5 separate regions of the Homo sapiens genome follow, and regions 2, 3, 4 and 5 are each linked to region 1. Evidence: promoter capture Hi-C in human tissues and cell types (Jung and others, 2019). All regions are on one chromosome and are shown on one strand. Each heading gives the region's core, a stretch centred on a gene start or on the middle of the fragment in contact. The rest is flanking DNA. Distances are from core to core; before and after follow the strand shown. Region 1 holds the start of STARD10 (StAR related lipid transfer domain containing 10). Region 2 overlaps FCHSD2 (FCH and double SH3 domains 2). Region 3 overlaps FCHSD2 (FCH and double SH3 domains 2). Region 4 overlaps PDE2A (phosphodiesterase 2A). Region 5 overlaps FCHSD2 (FCH and double SH3 domains 2).

Evidence for each region. The method cuts DNA at HindIII sites, captures the fragments that hold promoters and counts their contacts. A contact is called where the count stands out against the background at its distance.
Region 2: a fragment that was not itself captured here is called in contact with the fragment with the promoter of STARD10 in region 1 in 2 of the 25 tissues and cell types used here (hippocampus and pancreas).
Region 3: a fragment that was not itself captured here is called in contact with the fragment with the promoter of STARD10 in region 1 in 4 of the 25 tissues and cell types used here (hippocampus, mesenchymal stem cells, small bowel and 1 more).
Region 4: a contact is called between a fragment that was not itself captured here and the fragment with the promoter of STARD10 in region 1, in 6 of the 25 tissues and cell types used here (H1 embryonic stem cells, bladder, heart left ventricle and 3 more).
Region 5: a fragment that was not itself captured here is called in contact with the fragment with the promoter of STARD10 in region 1 in 2 of the 25 tissues and cell types used here (aorta and spleen).

What each region holds. Positions count from the first base shown.
Region 1 is chr11:72,792,181-72,796,484 of GRCh38, reverse strand. STARD10 (StAR related lipid transfer domain containing 10) reads left to right here and starts at 2,438. Exons shown (of 7, transcript NM_006645.3): 1 at 2,438-3,610. RefSeq lists enhancers at 2,113-2,682, 3,814-4,304. The HindIII fragment of the contact is 19,379 bases long and covers 1-4,304 here.
Region 2 is chr11:72,993,228-72,997,531 of GRCh38, reverse strand. All of the region lies in intron 5 of FCHSD2 (FCH and double SH3 domains 2), which reads left to right. Among named protein-coding and RNA genes, the nearest start is that of FCHSD2, 150 kb to the left of the region's middle. The HindIII fragment of the contact is 3,610 bases long and covers 756-4,304 here.
Region 3 is chr11:72,973,988-72,978,291 of GRCh38, reverse strand. The region is part of intron 8 of FCHSD2 (FCH and double SH3 domains 2); the gene reads left to right. Among named protein-coding and RNA genes, the nearest start is that of ATG16L2, 160 kb to the right of the region's middle. The HindIII fragment of the contact is 5,357 bases long and covers 1-4,202 here.
Region 4 is chr11:72,649,733-72,654,036 of GRCh38, reverse strand. The region is part of intron 1 of PDE2A (phosphodiesterase 2A); the gene reads left to right. Among named protein-coding and RNA genes, the nearest start is that of PDE2A-AS1, 8.9 kb to the left of the region's middle. RefSeq lists an enhancer at 728-1,273. The HindIII fragment of the contact is 5,548 bases long and covers 1-4,304 here.
Region 5 is chr11:72,919,896-72,924,199 of GRCh38, reverse strand. It overlaps FCHSD2 (FCH and double SH3 domains 2), which reads left to right. Exons shown (of 20, transcript NM_014824.3): 9 at 2,250-2,372. Among named protein-coding and RNA genes, the nearest start is that of ATG16L2, 110 kb to the right of the region's middle. The HindIII fragment of the contact is 9,036 bases long and covers 1-4,304 here.

The DNA of each region.
Region 1 (4,304 bases), core at 1,189-3,688:
GGTGGTGAGCACCTGTAATCCCAGCTACTCAGGAGGCTGAGGCGGGAGAATCTCTTGAACCCAGGAGGCAGAGGTTGCAGTGAGCCAAGATCACGACACTGCACTCCAGCCTGAGCGACAGAGCAAGACTCCTTCTCAAAAAAAAAAAAAAAATTAGCTGGGCGTGTTGGTGTGCGCCTGTAATCTCAGCTACTTGGGAGGCTGAAGTAGAAGAATCCCTTGAACCTGGCAGGCGGAGGTTGCAGTGAGCCAAGATCGTTGCAGTGAGCCACTGCACTCCAGCCAGGGTGACAGAATAAGACTCCATCTAAAAAAAAAAAAAAAAAAGGCAAAACATAATTAAAGTGAGAATTAAAAAAAAATTAGCCAGGTGTAGTGGTGTGTGCCTATAAACACAGCTACTCAGGAGGTTGAGGTGGGAGAATAGATTGAGCCCAGGAGGTCCAGGCTGCAGTGAACAATGGTCTTGCCTCCAGCCTGGGTGACAGAATGAGACCCTGTCTCAAAAAAACAAAAACAAGGCCGGGCACAGTGGCTCACACCTGTAATCCCAGCACTTTGGGAGGCCGAGGTGGGCGGATCACACGGTCAGGAGATCGAGACCATCCTGGCTAACACGGTGAAACCCCATCTCTACTAAAAAAATACAAAAAAAAAAATTAGCCCGGCGTGGTGGCGGGTGCCTGTAGACCCAGCTACTCAGGAGGCTGAGGCAGGAGAATGGCATGAACCCGGGAGGCGGAGCTGGCAGTGAGCCCCAGATCATGCCACTGCACTCCAGCCTAGATGACAGAGCAAGTCTCCGTCTCAAAAAAAAAAACAAAAAACAAAAAAAAAACCACAAACGAACAGCCCCTGCCCTCCCCCCAAAAAAGACAAACTGCATCTCACACACAGGTGACCCCTGTGAATACAGTCTCTGAGGAGTGATGGAAGAGGAAGCCCTGTGAGAGGTGCAGACTGCTACCCTCTAGAACACCAGGATGCCTAAATAGTAGAGGGCAGTTTCATTAGCGACATCAGTTTGCAAACTGAAAAGAGACACTCTCCTGTAGGTACCAAAGGTGCTCTCTCTTTGTATAGGGAAAAGGCAGGCTGGTTGTTTTTTGTTTTTGTTTTTTGAGACGGAGTCTCGCTCAGTCGCCCAGGCTGGAATGCAGTGGTGCGATCTCGGCTCACTGCAACCTCCACCTCCCAGGTTCATGCCATTCTCCTGCCTCAGCCTCCCGAGTAGCTGGGACTACAGGCGCCCGCCACCACACCCAGCTAATTTTTTTGTATTTTTAGTAGAGACGGGGTTTCACCATGTTAGCCAGGATGGTCTCAATCTTCTGACCTCGTGATCCGCCCGTCTTGGCCTCCCAAAGTGCTGGGATTACAGGCGTGAGCCACCACTCCCGGCCTAGGCTGGTTTATGACTCACAGGGTCTGTATTTCACAATAATCATACATATTCAGCAGGTTTTGGGGAAAAGCTATACATATTTATGAGGGGATGTGAGTGCATGCACAATGGGTAAACACCTGTAACATATGTTCCATGTTCACTTTGGGATGGGGTTTTTGCGTTAAAGTGAGGTGGAATTTGGTTCTTTGCATCATAAGGTGGACTATAGGACACAAACACAGTTTGCGTGCAGTCTCTATGAGCTTGCTGAAACTGGCCTGAGGTCTGCAGTTACTTATCAGGAAAGAATGTTTGTAAGGCCTGTCCTCTGTCGATCAGCGTTGTAGTGGTCTGAGTTGTAAATCTCAGTAAAGAAGAGTCTGACAATTTGCATGATAGCTCCTATTGCTAGGGGTTTAGTAAGAGTGTGGTTTTTCTGGCAGCAGTAGAAATTTAAGAAGTTGCCATGCCAGCTGACAGCTGAGCCCTGAGGTAGGCAACGTTTGTTTCCTTAACCTTAACCTTAAGGTCCATCGTAGTTGATAAAAAGGCATCTGGCCAGGCCTGATGGCTCACGCCTATAATCCCAGCACTTTGGGAGGGTGAGGCGGGAGGCCAGCAGTTCTGGGGCCACTGCACTCCAGCCTGACAGACAGAGACCCTGTCTCAAAAAATAAATAAATAAAAAAGATAAAGGGGCATTTGTCTTGATCGCTCAGATCACACAACTAATAAGTAGCATTCTTTCTAAAAGCCGCAACAATGCTACTCCTCTCTTATAAGAGCTACTGTGTAACTCCTGCCCAACTCAAACCCACAGGCCCAGGCTCAGAACACTTGGCTCCATTGCTTCACTGTTTCCCTGCTAGCACGAACCCCCCAAACTCCATCTCCCAACATGCCGCGGGCCCCCTTTCTGTCAGCCTGACTCTTGAGCTCCTGAGAAATGTAGTTTTTCCAGCGGCCCAGCCCCAGAAAGGTCCTAGCCAAGAACTACAGTTCCCATGTGGCAATGCGCGCGCCATTCCGGTGGAATTCACCGCGGTCTCCAGTTTGCCATGATGGATGCCAGAACCTGCACGTGGGGCTTGGTGACGCGATGACTGAGATGCTGGAGTCCCCGGTCAGAAGGACGATGCCGAGCGCGCCGTATTTTCTCCTGCCTCTCCTCAGATCGCCGCCGTTGTTGGGCTGTGGAGACGTCTCAACCAAAGTGGAGCCGACAGAGGCCCCGGGAGCCGTGGTGACAGAGCGGCCACAACCACTAGGGGGCGGGAGGCAGAGCGGCCCCTAGTCCGCCCCTAGTCCGGGACCTCTGGGCGGTCCCGGGCGGGAAGCGCACGCGCAAACGCGGGGCTTCGCGGCCGCTGTAAACACCAAAGAGCGCCTGCGCAAGCCGAGAGTCTCGGGATCGACACGTGGGGGCGCCTGAGCGAAGATAACCGTAATAAATAGTAACCTAACGGTCCAGTCATCGTTCTGTGGTCCTTTCTTTTATGATTCACAAGGAATGACCCTCTTCATCGCCTCTCCTAATTCAGTCCTCACAACAGTCCTTTTACAAATGGGACAACAGGTTAGAGGAAGTCAGGCAGATTTCCAGCATCATAGAGAGTAAAGGACCAGGGAAGGATCAGGATTCAAGGACTGCACCCAGGCTCTGCTTCCAGCTTGCTGTGTGACTTTGGGTAATTTTGTTCCCTTAGGGAACTGAGCTTTCTCATTTGTAAATGCAAACAGGCTGTTGGGAGGATCAAATGAGATCCAGGGGTGAAAACAGCTTAGTTTACTTTCAGGAATTTACCCACGCGGTATATAAAGGCAAAATATTATTATAGTCAGGTGATTGTAGATTGAGGAACCCATTTCCTCATTCTGCAAATTGCAAACCTGAGGGCCCAAAGAGGGACAGGGGCTTGCCCCAGGTCTCAGCAGGCTGTGAGCAAGAGCTAAAGCCTAATCCTCCTGCCTTTGGGCCTGGAGCCCTTCCTTGTACCCCAGGGGTCAGTGTCTTTGTTGGATACAGGCTTAGATTGACTGACTGTACCCTGAGAACCTAGGGGAGTCCCTGTTCCCAATTCTTCTCCTACCCCCACCTTGGCCTGATGGAGGAAGACCCTGCTGTGTTGAGATGAGCACCAGAGCCAAGAAGCTGAGGAGGATCTGGAGAATTCTGGAGGAAGAGGAGAGTGTTGCTGGAGCTGTACAGACCCTGCTTCTCAGGTCAGTGGCCCAAGTAAGGGAAAGAACCCAGGTGTGACAGATGAGGGGGCAGCACTAAGGGGACAGACTCTGAATGGAAAGGAGTGGGAAGGCAGTGGACACTGTTTCTGAGCTTGGGAGGAATTGGGTACTCAGGTAACTCCATCTGGGGGCAGTGGAGCTGGAGGTGATACCTGGGCTGGCCTGGCTGATGAGAAGGGGAAGTGATGCGCATTGAGCTGAGGTCTAGGAGCCACTCCCCAGCCAGGTGAAGCGAGGTGGCACCTAGGCACACCATGGCACCTGCAGGATCATGCAGCTAACCCCAGGGAAGGGGACTTTTCTCTGACCCTTGGAGCGGTGGAGCTGGGCTGTATGCAGCTGATTCTCTCTAGAGTGCTCTTAGAGGTTTTGGGGGTAGGTTGGGGGAAGGGCTGGGAGACCCTGAGGTCTCATTACAGATTGGGCCTCCCCAGGCAAGTCATGAAAGGCAGGTATATGTAGAAATAGAAATCCAAGATCCTTCAAGATATCCCAGATAGGCCAGGCACGGTGGCTCACGCCTGTAATCTCAGCACTTTGGGAGGCTGAGGCGAGCGGATCACCTGAGGTTGGGGGTTGAGATCAGCCTGACCAAAGTGGAGAAACTCCATCTCTACTAAAAATACAAAAAAAAAAATTAACCGGGCGTTGTGGCGGGCACCTGTAGTCCCAG
Region 2 (4,304 bases), core at 1,311-3,810, 200 kb before region 1:
CTCTTTTAACCGCCTGCGGTTTTTCTTGATTTTTGGTTATTTGGGTCTTCTGTTTGATTATGACTCACAATATTGGACATTGTGGATAAAAACTGTAGAGGCTCTGGGAAGATGTTATTTCCAAAGAGGGTTAAGCTTTCTTCTGGCAAGTGGATAGAATGCTATTAGATCACCTTGATTCTGTTAGGATCTCTGGTTTTAGGCTTTTTAGGGCTATTCTGTTTCACTTACTCCTAGAGTTTTAACTGAAAATATAGGGTGCTTACCAAGACCCTTCTAATTTGACAAGACTTGAACTCTAACCTTTGTCTTCTCAACATCGTGTAGCTGCTCTGATGCTCTGATCTCTGCTCACTCTTTGGCCTCTCGGCTATAGTTCTCTACTGGATTTCTTGGCATTTTACCCAACACCTGCTTTTTAGAAGTCATCTGTTAACCCAAGGGGAAATTGCATACAGATTTTTGGACTTGCTTTTCTGCAGTACCCCTCTTTCTAGACCCTTACCTCTCAAGTTCCTGTTCTTTTGGCATCCCTAAACTCCAACCTCTGTCTCCCCAGTCTCGTAAAAATGCCACTTTCTGTTTCTGTCCTATTTCTTTATACCATGATTCAACAAATGCCCTAAGGAAAAACATTAAGTTGAATTTAAGACTTACCTTGGTGTATTCCTCTTTTCCTGGGTGTCTTAGTCCTTTAAGTCCAGTGTGTGGTGGTGGTCTTTAATGCTGGCAGTTTTTTAAAAATGTATTTTGTTCAACTTTTACACTTTCCAGTCTAGAGAAAGGTAGTCTGATCCAAGTTGTTCTGTCATGATCAGAACCAATCTGACTTAAAATTTTTCCTCTACAACATTTTAAAGTTCATGTTTTTTTAAAGATTTTCTCTAATTTGACTATTTTCTTTTATAATGCTTGGAAGATAAACACAATTGTATTACAATTATGCAGAGCCCCAGTTTATAATGAGGATTATGAGAATTATTACATTTTTCAAAATTATTTTCTGTATGCTGACATTTGCTTAAAAATTAGAATGAGAGCTACAATAACTTAAGGCTTTTTGCCATTCTTATGTTTACTTAACCATACTTTTGTCCGTATCTTTCACATTTATACTAGAGTTTACTTACCATCCTTGAAATATTGTGGTTCACATTTGTATAACACTTTAGAGTTTGCAAACTGCTGCCATATCCATTATAGTCACATTTGATTTTTACACAACCCTGATAGTATTTAAGTATTATTATTTTACAAATGATAAAACTAAAGCTAAAAATGTTAAAGAGACTTAGGTAGTAAATAACAGAGTGGGAACTTGAATATACTACTACTTCCTAATTCCAAATCCTGTACAATGCTTTTAAAACAAAGCTTAATATTGAAACAGGTTTATAGAAAAATACATGTAAATGCCTTCACCATAGTAGACTACTTAATTCTCTTACTCCTTTTATCTTGCTCCTTTTATCCTCATTCTCCCAATTTCCTAATTAATTGTTCATGTTTCTACATAACCTTTATGTTTATTATTTTTTATTATTTTGTGAATTTTCCATTCTGCTTTCTTTAATTATACAACTGGGTTTGGACATTACCCTTAAGTCTACAGTAAAAATTAACTTTTTAAATTTTTTTCTTAGGATAAATTTCTAGGGCATTATTACTGGGTTAGAGAACCTAATCATTTGTAGGACTTCGATGTGTTGGCCCAGGTTACTTTTATTTGTATTCTTATATTCAAGTTATTAGCAAGTTTATTATTGTGTCTCTGTCATACTCAGAGACTATACTTTTAACTTCTTCCTTTTTTTTTTTTTTTTGAGACAGAATTTTTCTCTGCTCTGTCACCCCTGCTAGAGTGCAGTGGCATGAACACGGCTCACTGTGGCCTCAACCTCTTGGGCTCAAGTGATCCTTCCACCCCAGCCTCCCAAGTAGTTGGGACTACAGGTGCTTGCCACCACACCTGGCTGATTTTTGTACTTTTTTTTTAGAGATGAGGTTTCACCATGTTGCCCAGGGTGGTCTCGAACTCCAGGGCTCAAGATATCTGGCCGCCTCAGCCTCCCAAAGTGCTAAGATTACAGGTGTGAGCCACCGCACCTGGCCCAGTTTTTGGTTCTTAATATCAAAATTGTAGCCATGGAGCCTGCTTTTAGCTCTTCACACCTGCAAACACAGCATTATTAGAATGTTTAGCACTTCTTTATGGGAGTGTCAGGTTGTCATCTTGTCATTTATTAAACAAAAACTTTGTATTTGATAAGTACTATTACAATTTAGGGGGAAAACAGCTTTTCGTTCTGCAAGATAAAAGCTTACTTTTAGTTTATATGTAACAAAATACTATTCGGCGATAAAAAGGAATGAAGTACTGACACCTGCTACAACTTGAATGAACCCTAAAAATGTTTTGATAAGTGAAAGAAGTGAGAAACATAAGGCCACATATTATTTGATTCCATTTGTACTAAATATCCCAAAAAGGAACTCCATAGAGACAAAAATAGATTAATTGTTGTTGGAAGTGGGGAGAAATGGGGAGTGACAGCTAATGGATACAGAGTTTCTTTTTGGGGTAGGAAAATGTTTTGGAATTCAAGCAGAGTAATGGTTGAACAACCTTGTCACCACTGAATTGTATACTTTAAAAAGGTGAATTTTGTTGTATGTGAATTATATGTCAATTTTTTAAAAGCTTTTAAGATAAACTACATCTATAAGATACAGTTTGCACTATATCTTTTTTTTGTTTTGTTTTTTGAGATGGAGTCTCGCTCTGTCACCCAGGCTGGAGTGCAGTGGCATGATCTCGGCTCACTGCAAGCTCTACCTCCTGGGTTCAAGCCATTCTCCTGCCTCAGCCTCCCGAGTAGCTGGGACTACAGGCGCCCACCACCACACCCAGCTAATTTTTTTGTATTTTTAGTAGAGACGGGGTTTCACCGTGAGTTTACACTATATCTTAAAACATGGTCATCACAGAACTAGGGTACACACTTTAATGGGTTCCATAGTAAATGGTATCATCACATCCTTGCCGTGTGACTCAGAGTAAATTATTTAACATCTGAGTCTATTTTCTCATCTTAATGGGATCACTGCTACTACTACTACTGCTGCTGCTGCTACTACTACTACTACCTTTTTCATAGAGTCGTTTCAAGGACTAAATGTGATAATACCTGTAAAGTACGAAACATAGCACCTGTGCAGTGCCCACAAGGGGTCTTTTTAGAAGTAATAAGCATTCAGACTCCCTTGGCTCTCATAGGCCACACCTGACAAGAGGTTTACTGAGAAGGACAGAGTACAGGAAACACAATTTGCCAGTAGGGAAGCATCTAGCATTAATGGAAATAATTCTCCCACTATTGTATGTCTCGGTCCACATAGCTGACCAGTTATTCTGTTTGGTCCTCCAAGTGACAGGTCTAGGACAAGGGAGTGAGACACATTTGCAGAGCCAGCTTTAGCCCCTAAAGGAGACTAAAATTTTTTACAACAACTCTATAGACAGAGCTTCCAGTGTCCCTGTAAGGGACATGTCCGGATACACCGTACTCACAGAAGCCCAAAGCCTGGCTTTTCTATCCGATATTTATTTATTTATTTATTTTTATTATACTTTAAGTTTTAGGGTACATGTGCACAACGTGCAGGTTAGTTACATATGTATACAGTGCCATGTTGGTGTGCTGCACCCAGTAACTCGTCATTTAACATTAGGTATATCTCCAAATGCTATCCCTCCCCCCTCCCCTCACCCCACAACAGGCCCCAGTGTGTGATGTTCCCCTTCCTGTGTCCATGTGTTCTCATTGTTCAATTCCCACCTATGAGTGAGAACATGCGGTGTTTGGTTTTTTGTCCTTGCGATAGTCTGCTGAGAATGATGGTTTCCAGCTTCATCCATGTCCCTACAAAGGACATGAACTCATCATTTTTATGGCTGCATAGTATTCCATGGTGTATATGTGCCACATTTTCTTAATCCAGTCTATCATTGTTGGACATTTGGGTTGGTTCCAAGTCTTTCCTATTGTGAATAGTGCCACAATAAACATATGTGTGCATGTGTCTCTATAGCAGCATGATTTATAATCCTTTGGGTATATACCCAGTAATGGGATGGCTGGGTCAAATGGTATTTCTAGTTCTAGATCCCTGAGGAATCGCCACACTGACTTCCACAATGGTTGAACTAGTTTACATTCCCACCAACAGTGTAAAAGTGTTCCTATTTCTCCACATCCTCTCCAGCACCTGTTGTTTCCTGACTTTCTAATGATCGCCATTCT
Region 3 (4,304 bases), core at 275-2,774, 180 kb before region 1:
GGGTACATGTGCACAATGTGCAGGTTTGTTACATATGTATACATGTGCCATGTGGTGTGCTGTACCCATTAACTCGTCATTTACATTAGGTATATCTCCTAACGCTATCCCTCCCCGCTCCCCCCACCCCATGACAGGCCCCAGTGTGTGATGTTCCCCACCCTGTGTCCAAGTGTTCTCATTGTTCAATTCCCACCTATGAGTGAGAACATGTGGTGTTTGGTTTTCTGTCCTTGCTGTAGTTTGCTCAGAATGGTGGTTTCCAGCTTCATCCATGTCCCTACAAAGGACATGAACTCATCCTTTTTTATGACTGCATAGTATTCCATGGTGTATATGCCACATTTTCTTAATCCAGTCTATCATTGATGGGCATTTGGGTTGGTTCCAAGTCTTTGCTATTTTGAATAGTGCTGCAGTAAACATATATGTGCATGTGTCTTCAGAGCAGCATGATTTATAATCCTTTGGGTATATACCCAGTAATGGGATTGCTCGGTCAAATGGTATTTCTAGTTCTAGATCCTTGAGGAATCGCCCCAATGGTTGAACTAGTTTACAGTCCCACCAACAGTGTAAAAGTGTTCCTGTTTCTTCACATCCTCTCCAGCACCTGTTGTTTCCTGACTTTTTAGTGATTGCCATTCTAACTGGTGTGAGAGCGTGCTCGCTTCGGCAGCACATATACTAAAATTCTAACTGGTGTGAGATGGTATCTCATTGTAGTTTTGATTTGCATTTCTCTGATGGCCAGTGATGATGCTTTTGCTCATTTTAAAAATCAGATTATTAGATTTTTTTTTCCTATAGAGTTGTTTGAGCTCCTTATATATTCTGGTTATTAATCCCTTGTCAACTGGATAATTTACAAATATTTTTTACCATTCCATGGGCTGTCTCTGCACTTTGTTGATTGTTTACTTTGCTGTGCAGAAGTTTTTTAACTTGATGTGATCCCATTTGTCCATTTTTGCTTTGATTGCCTGTGCTTACAGGGTATTACTCAAGAAATCTTTGCCCAGTCCAGTGTCTTAGAGAATTTCCCCCAATGCTTTATTTTAATAGTTTTGGGCTGGGTGTAGTGGCTCACACCTGTAATCCCAGCGCTTTGGGAGGCCAAGGCAGGTGGATCACAAGGTCAGGAGTTCAAGACCACCTGGCCAATATGGTGAAATGCTGTCTCTACTAAAAATACAAAAATTAGCCAGGTGTGGTGGTGGGCACCTGTAGTCCCAGCTACTCAGGAGGCTGAGGCAGGAGAATCGCTTGAACCGGGAAGTGGAGGTCACAGTGTGCCGAGATCATGCCACTGCACTCCAGCCTGGGCAACAGAGCAAGACTCTGTCTCAAAAAAAAAAAAAAAGTTTCATAGTTTGAGGTCTTAGATTTAAGTCTTTAATTCATTCTGATTTGATTTTTGTATATGGTGAGAGATAGGGGTCTAGTTTCATTCTTCTGCATATGGATGTCCAGTTTTCCCAGCACTTTTCCCCCAGTGTATGTTCTTAGCACCATTGTTGAAAATGAGTTCACTGTAGATGTATGGATTTGATTCTGGGTTCTGTCTTCTGTTCCATTGGTCTGTGAGTCTATTTTTATGCCAGTACCATACTGTTTTGGTTACTATAGCTCTGTAGTATAATTTGAAGTTAGGTAATGTGATTCCTCCAGTTTTCTTTTCCCCAGCCTAATTATTCTGAAGAATAAGATCAGGCCTGGCACAGTGGCTTACACCTGTCATCCCAGCACTTTGGAAGGCGGGGGTGGGAGGATCACTTGAGTCCAAGCGTTTGAGACCAGCCTGGGCAGCATAGTGAGACTTTGTCTCTACAAAAAAATTTAAAAATTAGCACGTGCTTGTAGTCCCAGCTACTCAGGAGGCTGAAGTGGGAAGATAACTTGAGCCCAGGAATTGAAGGCTACAGTGAGCTATGATCCTGCCACAGCACTCCAGCCTGGGTGACAAAGTGAGACCTCATCTCTTAAAAAAAGGAAATAAAAAGAATAAGTTCATGTTGATATCTAAATACAAGTATTTGGACAGATTCCCCAAGAAATACTATTTATTTCTTATGCCAGTAGTTACTAGAGCAGATACTGAATATATCTTTCTCTGTCTGTATATTATTAGGCAGATTTCTTTAAACTCTAAACTAAAACAAACAAACAAAAAACTATTGCTAGACCCTGGAAATCAGATAACTGATTTCATCAAATCTACAGAAATCAACTCAGCTGGTTTGTGGTGAGATAATTTGTTCCTCACATGTTCCTTTTTCATAGCATGTTCTTGTGCAATATATGAACTAACATTTTTTAGAAGCTTGTGAAATATTTTCTTTGTGGTTTGGATGAGGAAGAATGAGATACAGTGTGTCATAGTAGAAAAGAGAACAAACGTCAATTTAATGGAAGATTTTTTAAAAGCTTAGTAATTCTTAATAGGATTTATTTCTAGACAAATATTTCTTCAGTGGAAGCCAAACATACATTGACTAGTTGATAATTTGGTGAAGTAATAAAAGATAAACATCTTTCTGTATGGCAGAAATCTAGAAAATATAATTTGACTTATCTTTTGCAGACTTTTTTTGATCAAATGAAGAGAAAAACATTAATATACAAATCCTTTCTAAAATTGATACATAATAACTATATATTTATAGTGTATGTGTGATATTTTGATGCATGCGTACAATGTGTAAGGATCAAATGGGGGTAATTGAGATATCCATCATCTCAAATATTTATTATATATCATGGAGTGTTGAGAACATTTCCAAATCTTCTCTCCTACCTGTTTTAGAATATACCATAAATTATTGTTAACTATAGTCACCCTGCTGTGCTATTAAACAGTAGAATGTATTCCTTCTATCTGACTGTAATTTTATACCCATTAACCAACCTCTCATTGGCCCCACCTTCCTATCCTTCCCAACCTCTGGTAACCACCAATCTACTCTCTACTGCTGGATATATATCCAAATGAATGGAAATCAGTATGTTGAAGAGATGTCTTATAGCACTATTCACAATAGCTAAGATGTGGAATCAACCTAAATGTCCGTCAGTGGATAAATGGATAAAGAAAATGTAGTATATATACACAATGAAATATTATTCAGCCATAAAGAAGATTGAAATCCTGTCATTTGCAATAACATGGATGACCCTAGAGGACATTATGTTAAGTGAAATAAGCCAGGAACAGAAAGCCAAGTTCTTTTTCGGTTTTTCTGGCTAAGCATTAATTCCAAAAATCTTCCTCATTCATATGTAGGCGTATATAACTCATCTTTTTTATTTTGAGTTGTGGCTCTTCTGGTTTCTCTGTCGTCTCTAGCTCTTGTACCTCTGATTCACCTAATGTCTGTTTACTTAATTAATTAGCATGGAAGTCTTCAATTCTATTAAATTCTGCTTAATTCTGCTTTAATTCTGTTAAATCTCTGCTTCTCTTGCTTTATATCCTTTTTTTTTTAATGCCCTCTTTCTTGGAGAGAGTAATCATTTGACTCAGTTCCCATAAATACCATATGATTCTCAAATCTGTCTGCAGCCTGCCCTTTAATTATTCATATTTGTGCCTTTACCACTGGTACTTGTGAATACTGAAAGTAACTAAAAATAAATGCATTTTAAAATTCTGTTTCTCAGTCCCAGTAGCCATATTTCAAATGCTTAAAGGCCACATGTGACTAGTGTCTACCATGTTGGACAGTGCAGATATAGAACATTTTTGCCATCTTAGAAAACTCTGTTGAACAGCAGTGCTCTAAAGCTTATTTTGTTTTTACTTGTTATGGTTTGAATGTGTCCTCTAAAGTTCATGTGTTGGAAACCTAATTCCCAATGCAACAATACTGAGAAGTGGGACTTTTAAAAGGTCATTAGGTCATGAGGGCAGAGCCCTTATGAATGGATTATTGCCATTGTTGTGAGAGTGAGTTATTTATTACAGGAGTGGGTTCCTGATAAAAGGAAAAGTTTGGCCCCTTTCCACTTTCCCTCTTGTGTTCTGTTGCTCTTCTGCTTTCTACCATGGGATGATACAGCGTGAAGGCCCTTGCCAGATACAGGCCCCTACACCTGGACTTCCCAGTCCCGAGAACCATGAACCAAATAAACGTCTGTTGTTTATAATTACCCAGTTTGTGGTATTCTGTTATAGCAACAGAAAATGGACCAAAACTTTGTTTTCTTCCATCCCGCCCCCCGCCCTTACCTGTCTGTTATCAACTCTGCTGGTCATTTTTCCCAGTAACCACTTGGTTATATTTGATTATTTCACAATTAATTGC
Region 4 (4,304 bases), core at 768-3,267, 140 kb after region 1:
TGCCTCTCTGCACTAACTGAGCCCCCATGGGCAACTAGGAGTGGTGTCACTTGGGGTGGAGGTGGGCAAGGATCTCTGGACTGGGATTTCCAAGCCCTGACTTCCTGTTATTTCAGGCACTACCTCATTGTTCCATCTTGGGCAAGACCTGTCCCCTTGAGGGTAAGAGACACATGTGACCTCTGACCTCCAGAGTCTCTCTTCTGAGCTTCTGTGCCCAGATGATTCTGTGTTCTAGGGGACAGGCGAGGCTGGGGGGTGACCCCCATGCCACTGATGGGCAGACTAAGGAGCAGGGGCCCAGGACTGGGGCCAGCTCAGGACTCTGGTGGCCTCGGTGCCCTTGACCTGGTATTGCTGCCGTTTTGCCCCACTGCTGTCTGTCTCCGCGTCCGAGTCACCACCTGTCCCTCTCCAGTCCTCTCCTCTCTTCCTTTATTACTATCTCTATATTGCCTCCTGCCTCAGGCTTATCTCCTCCTGTCATGCCTCTATCCACCTCTGTCACTCCCCTGCGACTCTGCCTCACTCCCTGGCACACCCTCTCCCTCCCTGGGAGTCGGGAGTGGAGCCTCGCTGGGAATCAGGACCCCCCTGCCTCTGGTCTCTGTCTAAGCAGTCTCTGCGATTCTGGCCAGCTCTTATCTTTTTCCACCTTCCCGAATCTCTCTTGCTGTCTGATGGTGTCTCTGCCTTTCACTGTCTCTGAACTCCCTTTGTTTTTCTCTATATGCTTCTCTCTGCTCTTATCTCTGGGCCTCTGTCTCTCAGGGCCTGACTGGTCTTGACCTCTTTGCCTCCTTCTTCCCCTCGAGAGCCCAGCCAGGCAGCAGGTCCAGCCCTCCAGCCCAGAGAACAGATGGAGTCCACCCTCCCTCTCTCTTGCTGGCTGCCTCGGAAGCCCCAAACAATGGCCTCCGCCCTGCACCGTGCCTTGTTGCTAGGCCTTGGGCTGGCAGCACCTGGCTTCCATAGCGACGGGTGCTTAGAAACAGAATGCCACATCTCCCAGTCCCACCACAGGAGCCTTTGCCGATTGAGCGAGTGCCTTTTGATCAATCAGGAAGTGTGGCCAGGCTCTAGGTTGCCTCCAACTTGAGGAGGCAAGAGAGGAGGGGACTGTGGTCTCTGCCTTCTGGAGCTGGGGGGACTGCTGGGCTGGGAGGAGTTGCTCAAGTACAGCCCTGAAGCCAAGGAAGGACTGGGGGAGGCCCTGGGCTCTTTTCCCCAAGTCAGCCTGCTGCAAGAGGCACAAGCTTGGGAGCTGGAAGGGGCTGTGTTGAAATTGCTGTTCCATCATTTCTAGCTGCATGACTTTGGACGAATGACCTCAGGTCCCAGGGCCTCAGTTTCATCAACTGTAAAATTGGGCTAATAATATCATGAAGATTAAATGAGAGAATAGATCTGGCACTTAGTAGGTGGTCATCAATGGCCATTCCCCTCCCTTCCCCTTTAAAGTTGTTTAAAATTTAATTGACAGAGAGGAGAAGGAGGGTTCTTCAGGCCTGTGGAATGGTGTAAGCAAAGGGGTGGAGGCTGGCATGCACCTCACATATGCTGGAGTATTTAGGGAGGACCAGGGGCCATATCTGGAAATGGTTCTGCCAGAAGCAGCCAGGCCAAGCTGGGTGCCATGTCATGCACCTGTAATTCCAGCTACTAGGGAGGCTGAGGCAGGAGGATCACTTGAGCCCTGGAGTTCCAGATCAGCCTGGGCAACATAGTGAGACCCCATCTCAAAAAAACAAAACACAACAGGCAGGCTGATGGGCCCATGGAGAAGGGACTCTGTCTCCTGGGAGGTATATTCTTGCCAGGTGCAAAGGGATGGGCTTGACTAATTTCTCCTCTAGCATTTGGGGCTGCTGGGTAGGGAGCTACATTGGGGTCCCCTTGCTTATTCTCATGCTGCTCCCTACTTCTGCCCTGTCACTTGGTCCCAGGAGAGGGGCTCCCACTGGTTCCTTTTCCCTGCCAGGCCTGCCCACCAAGGCCACCATGGCCACACAGCCTGAATCCTGGGGCCAGCAAGTGTCCATGGAAGGCCCCACTCTGTCATCGTAGAGATCAGGAAACAGGCTCAGAAGTAGGAGGGCTTCCTGGTCCTAGGGCCCAGCTCTTCCCTCTTTTCAGGCCTGTCTTCTGCACTAAGGACTTCAGGCCACCAGGGAAGGTGGGGAGGGAGGAAAGGAGATGAGATAGACTTGGGCGGGGGCCTGAGGACAGAGTTTCATGTCACTTGGGCAGCCAGGAAAGGGTTAAAGATCCCTTATCCCAAGCCATGGGCACTGGCACTGCCAGAGGATGCTGAGGCCTGCTGGGGCATAAGGACAACAAGCAACATCCTTTTCTGAGCTGTTGGGAGTGCCAAGCTCTCTGTTAAATACTTTTGAGCCTCTTCTCATGTATTCACAGCCACCTTTCAAGGAAGGCCAGTTGATCCCCAGTTTAGAAGTGAGAAAACGGGGTCTCCAGGAGGCACTTGTCTAAGGTGACACAGCTGGAGAGTTGGAGATGGTGGTTAGACCGAGTCACCCCCCCAGACCCTGGCCTCTCCCTGCGTGCCCCTTCCAGGACACCCATCACTCCCTTGACACCCCTTGGGAGTGGGTGTTCATTTCCTTGGGCTCTCCCAATCCCAGTCCTTGGTATCCCCAACTGCAGGCAGACACAGGTGCTTGCTGCTGTGCCCTCCCCTTTACCTGGCATCACAGAGACTCAAGCCCACTGACCATTAGGCTCTCAGGGGCATAGAAACCAGGTGCTGGAGTCTTAGAGTCCTGCAATCAGGCATCTCAGGCAGTCAGGACATTAGAATGTTAGAATCTTGGGCTTCTACATTCTCAAGACCCCAGGTTCTCGCATTCACAGAATGTAAGAAAAACAGACTTTTTGAATGATGGGGTGTTATAACAGAAGCTTTGATTTTCTAAGAACATGAAGCTCTGGGAGTTCTTGGAGCCTTGAAGCCATAGACTGGGGCCTCCCTGTGTGATGGTTTCTGAGTTAGCAGGGAGTGTTCAGAGTATGGGGCCTTGGTCCCTGTTGCTTAGACCTTCTTGCCTTGGTATCTCTGATGGGCTCAGCTCTTAGTAGCCTTTGTGTATGTGTGTGTGTGTGTGTGTGTGTGTGTGTGTGTGTGTGTGTGTGTGTGTGTAGTGGGGACTGGGGTCAGGGGTCAGGGACTGACTCTAACCTGAGGCACCCCTGGAGTGGGGCCAGCCCAGGAATAGCAGGTGGAGGAAAGCCGGGCAGCCTCAGGGCTGCAGCTGTCTGGTGGTACAGGGCAGGGCTCTGGGTGGCTGCCTTTGGCAGAGGACCAGCCTGCCTCCTTCGTCCCCTACCCAGCCTGCTACCAGGATCAGGAGGAGGCATCTCCATGGGACTCCTAGGGCTGGAGTCAGAGCAGCCCCTCCAGGTTCTGCAGCCTGGACGGTAGGAGGTGCCACTAAGGGGAGGAGATTGGGGAAGGATTGGGACCTTTATCTGCGGTGAGGTGGGGCACGGGGGGATGAGAGATATAGTGGGAGTCTTTGAAGGGTGTGGGATCAGTGAAGGGGCTGGGGATTTAGTGATGGGCTGGGGCTTAGGATGGAGCCAAGGGCTCTGTGGGTGGGAGACCTTTTGAGAGGGTGGAGACTCAGAGAGAAGGATGGGGGCTCAGCAAGGGGATGTGGCTCAGTGGAGGTTGCTGAAGAGTTTCTTGGGGTTGGCTACACGCGGTGGCTCACGCCTGTAATCCCAGCACTTTGGGAGGCCAAGGCAGATGGATCACTTGAGGTCAGGACTTCAAGACCAGCCTGGCCAACATGGTGAAACCCTGCCTCTACCAAAAAATACAAATATTAGCCGGGCGTAATGGCAGGCGCCTGTAATCTCAGCTACTCGGGAGGCTGAGGCAGGAGAATTGCTTGAACCTGAGAGGCGGAGGTTGCAGTGAGTCGAGATTGTACCACTGCACTCCAGCCCTGGGCGACAGAGCAAGACTCCATCTAAAAAAAAAAAAAAAAAAAAGTCTCAGGGCTGTCTCTGCACTGCTCCAGGTTCCTGAGGACGGCGGTTGGGGCTGGGGGAGTCTTCTGTCCCTGGGGTAGGCTGAGAAGCAAGAGCTCCTTTTCCCAACTCTGCCCAAAGCTGGAAAGGTTGTTAGAGCTGCTAAGAAAGCTGGCATCTGCCTCTCCTTTTGCTCATCTTCCTTTCTGGTTTCCATGGGAATCTGTGGCTCAGGATGATCAGGGGTTGACAGGATGGCGCTGTGGAAGGAGTCTGTGTCAGGCACAGCCATCCCACATGGGAAGGAG
Region 5 (4,304 bases), core at 566-3,065, 130 kb before region 1:
GGAGGCTGAGACAGGCGGATTACTGGAACCCAGAAGTTTGAGTCCAGCCTGGGAAACATGACAAGACCTTATCACTTTTTTTAAAAAAGTAAAACTTTTGTACATCAAAAGAAACTTTCAAGAAAGTGAAAAGACAGCCCACAAAATGGGAGAAAATATTTGCAAATCATACATATTGTAAGAATCTAGTATCCAGAATATATAAAGGATTCTTACAACCCAACAACAAAAAGACAACTTTATTTATTTATTTATTTTCTGAGACTGAGTCTTGCTCTGTCACGCAGAGCTGTATTTCAATAGCACAAACTCGGCTTACTGCAACCTCCACCTCCTGGGTACAAGCAGTTCTCCTGCCTCAGCCTGCCAAGTAGCTGGGATTACAGGCAGACGCCACTACATCAGCTAATTTTTGTATTTTTAGTAGAGACGGGGTTTCACCATTTTGGCCAGGCTGGTCTCGAACTCCTGATCTCTTGATCCGCCCACCTCAGCCTCTCAAAGTGCTGGGATTACAGGCGTGACCCACCACACCCAACCTGACAACCTAATTTAAAAATGAGTTAAGGACTTGAGTAGGCTTTTCACCAAAGAAGATATACAAATGGCCAAATAAGCACATGAAAAGTTGCTCAACATAGTCATTAGAGAAATGCAAATCAAAACTACAAAGATATACCGTTCCTAATCACTAATATGGCTTTCATAATTTAAAAAAAAAATACCAAAATACAAAAGAATAAGTGTTGGCAAGGGTGTGGAGAATTTGAACCCTCATACATTGCTAGTAGAAAGGTAAAATGTTGCAGTCACTGGAAAACAGTTTGACAGTTCCTCAAAATTAAACATAGAGTTATCATATGACCGAGCAATTCCATTCCTGGGTATATTCCCAAGAGAAATGGAAACAGGTGCTCAAACAAAACCTTGTACACAAATGTTCATAGCAGCATTATTTATTTATTTTTTAACTTTGCAGCATTATTTATAATAGTCAAAAAATGGGGAAAAGGCAAATTTATATCACCTGATTAATAAACAAAATGTGGTACAACTGAATATTATTAAGCTGTAAAAAGGAATGAAGTACTGATAAATCAATGAGCCTTGAAAATATTATGCTGGGCAACAGAAGCCAGGCACCAAAAGTCATATATTATATGATTTGATTTATATGAAATATCCAGAGTAGGCAAATCCATAGAGGTAGAAAGCAGACTAGTGGTTGCCAGGGGCTGGGGGAAGGAAGGGATGGAGAATGACCACTTAACAGGTACAGTGTTTTTGGAGAAGTGGTGGAAATGTTCTGGAATTAGATAATGGAAATTGTTAAACAACTTTGTCAGTGTACTAAAAGCCACTGAGTTGTACACTTTAAAATTATTAAAATGGTGACTTATATTGGGTGAATTTTACCTCAATTTTTACCTCTACTGATTGGCAAGACTTCAGAACCTTGATTATTATTAATTATTATTATTATATTTTTCCATAGTTATTGCTAGTGTATATGTCATATGTATATTCTGTTTTTTTAACCTAAAATTATTTGATACATACTTGTCATCTATACAGTTTCCACGGTTTTTATTTTGGTGACAGTACACATCATAGCTTAATCATTCCTCAAATGTTCAGTGATTTTCTCTCCTTTTTTTTTATTTCAAAGATCCCTGTTACAAAATGTTTAAGGAAATAAGAATGTTTCCAACCCTTCATAGATATTACACTGGGTTTTCTTCCCCAAAGCAGTATCTCTGAGTCACTTTTCTTTTTTTAATATTTCTATTGTGTTTTTTCTGTCACTGCTGTTCAGTAAATATACATATACCAATGTATAATCCTACCAATAATGGATTGGGGGAAAACGGAGATTATTGTAGAGTGTCTACTCTTTTCCAGGCACTGCACCTGCATCCTTTCACGTTTATTATTTCACTTAACTCCTACACCTAAGCAGATGAGCAAAGATCAGAACCCACGCATTTTGTCTCTAAGTTGTGTCCTGTTTTCCCACAGCTTTACCAATATTGGATCTTACCTCTTTTAGTTCCTGTTTATTAGAGAGATTCAACATTTTCTCAAGTGATTGTTAACTGTTCATATTTACTTACAATCTGTATCTTTTGTCCATTTATTATTAATAATAAATTTTAAACTGAACATACCTACTTTTCTCATAGGCAGAAGATATCATATGTCAAGGCTTTACTGTAATTTTTTTTCTTTTATTTACTCCTCTATTACAGGCTCTTGATGGAAATGTGTATGATCATCTCAAGGATTATTTAATAGCCTTCAGCCGGACTGAGCTAGAAACATGCCAAGCTGTGCAGAACACATTCCAGTTTTTATTAGAAAACTCCAGCAAGGTAAGTTACCTTTAGTGCAACGTGTAGTGTTATCCAACTTAGAAGCTAAAGTATTTCTGCATACAAAGAAAATGAAGGTACTAGTGATATTAGAAGAATGCATTAACGAACAAATTTCCTGGTAACAGCATTCCTTCTAACAAAGTTGGAGGAGATTCTGTTCTCCTTGTTGATGAGTTGAAGATGGCACCAAGGGCAAAAAGAGAGGTGCTGATACAAGGTAGCTTAGAACATTGGCCCATTGCCATGTGCATTGCCTTTGAGAAGGGTTTAAACAGTTTTGTATTCTACTCAGAGTTTAAATGCACTCTGCTCACATGGGGGAAACAACAGGTCATGTGTCAGTACAAAGAGTACTAAAAGAGCACGAAGGGAAAAGGAGCGTTTTGTAATTGATATAAAAACAACAGTGTCTTGGGTTTTTTTCAAATTAAGCCCTACTATCTATATGCTGTCATTCTTTGACAGCAGTCGTTTCATTTAAAAGTGTTGAGATCCATCAGGTTTGCTGACATGTCACATTGTATGCAGAGAAAATAAATGCAATGACTTTTCTTCAAGATTTGATAGATTAAAATGTTTTGCAGTCGTGAAACTATCCTTTGGAAGATAAATTGTTCCTGTGGTTGGCAAATGTTTTTTATCTGATAAATTAAATTCACAATAAATGTTTCCTGACTAAAGGAATGCATTTTTTAAAAATACGCATTTCATAACTGCTACTTTAAAAGATCCAGTTCAATTTTTTTTTTTTGTCAGGGAGAGTGAGAACTGGCTAATACTTTTAGGAGAGGGATCAGGATATCCATTTTCACATGACAGTGTCCAAAGACAGGAAAGAAAAGCACAGACTCTTCATCCTGAATGCCTCTTGTATATATATTCTTGTTTTCACTGTACCAGAGCTCTCAATTCTGTGTTTATAAAAGTGTTAAAAATGCTAGGTTGATACGGAAATACAAAAATCACTAGCCTGGTGCTTTGAAGTCCTGTCATGTATCTGTTTTCCTATATTGTCATCCCCCAAAATCTAAGAGAAAAGGAAAATGTAGTAAAACATTAATTGAGGAATCTATGTAGTATGTATATAAGTATTTACTGTATAATTTGTTTGATTTTAATGTATATATATTTGAATTTTTCAGAAAAGAATGTTGGGGGAAAAGTCTATGAAAAAATCTTATCTTTGTTCCTTCTATGAAGTGGTTGATTTTTGAGTGAACAATTTTGTTGTTGTTGTTGTTATTTTTAGTAGAGACAAGGTTTCAACATGTTGATCAGGCTGGTCTTGAAGTCCTGGCCTCAAGTGGTCCACCCGCCTTGCCTCTCAAAGTGCTGGGATTACAGGCATGAGCCACCATGCCCAGCCGTGATCAAATTTTTTATGTTTATTTGTCCATTTAGATTTTCTGTCTCTTTTTCAGTATATTTGGGTAACTTACATTTTCCTGGACAATTGTCCATTTCATTAAAATGTCCAATTTTCCTAGGCAGTTGTCCATTTCATTTATCAGATTTGATGTCATAAACTTGTTTGCTTCTAGAATTGTCTCTGTTTTTGTTTTTAATATTGTGTGTGCCCTCTGTCTTATTTTGACCAGACTTGCCAGTCTATTTTATTAATCTTTGCCAAGAACCAGATAAAATGACCTTTATTCTGCTTCTCAGTGTTGTGTCTATTTCCTTAATTTTTGCCTTTATATTCATTATTTCTACTGTCTTACAGTTTATGTTATTGTTCTTTCTCAAGCTTCTTTTTCTATTTAGATCCTATATTTTCAGTCTTTCTTGTTTTTAAGTAAATTTGTTTAAAGCTTTTAAAAAAGTGTCTTTCTGCTTGAACTGCATTCTGTGATATGTAGGGCTTTTGTTTTATATCTATTTTTTTCTCCTTATTAACCCATGATTATTTAGAAATGAGTTTTTCAGTTT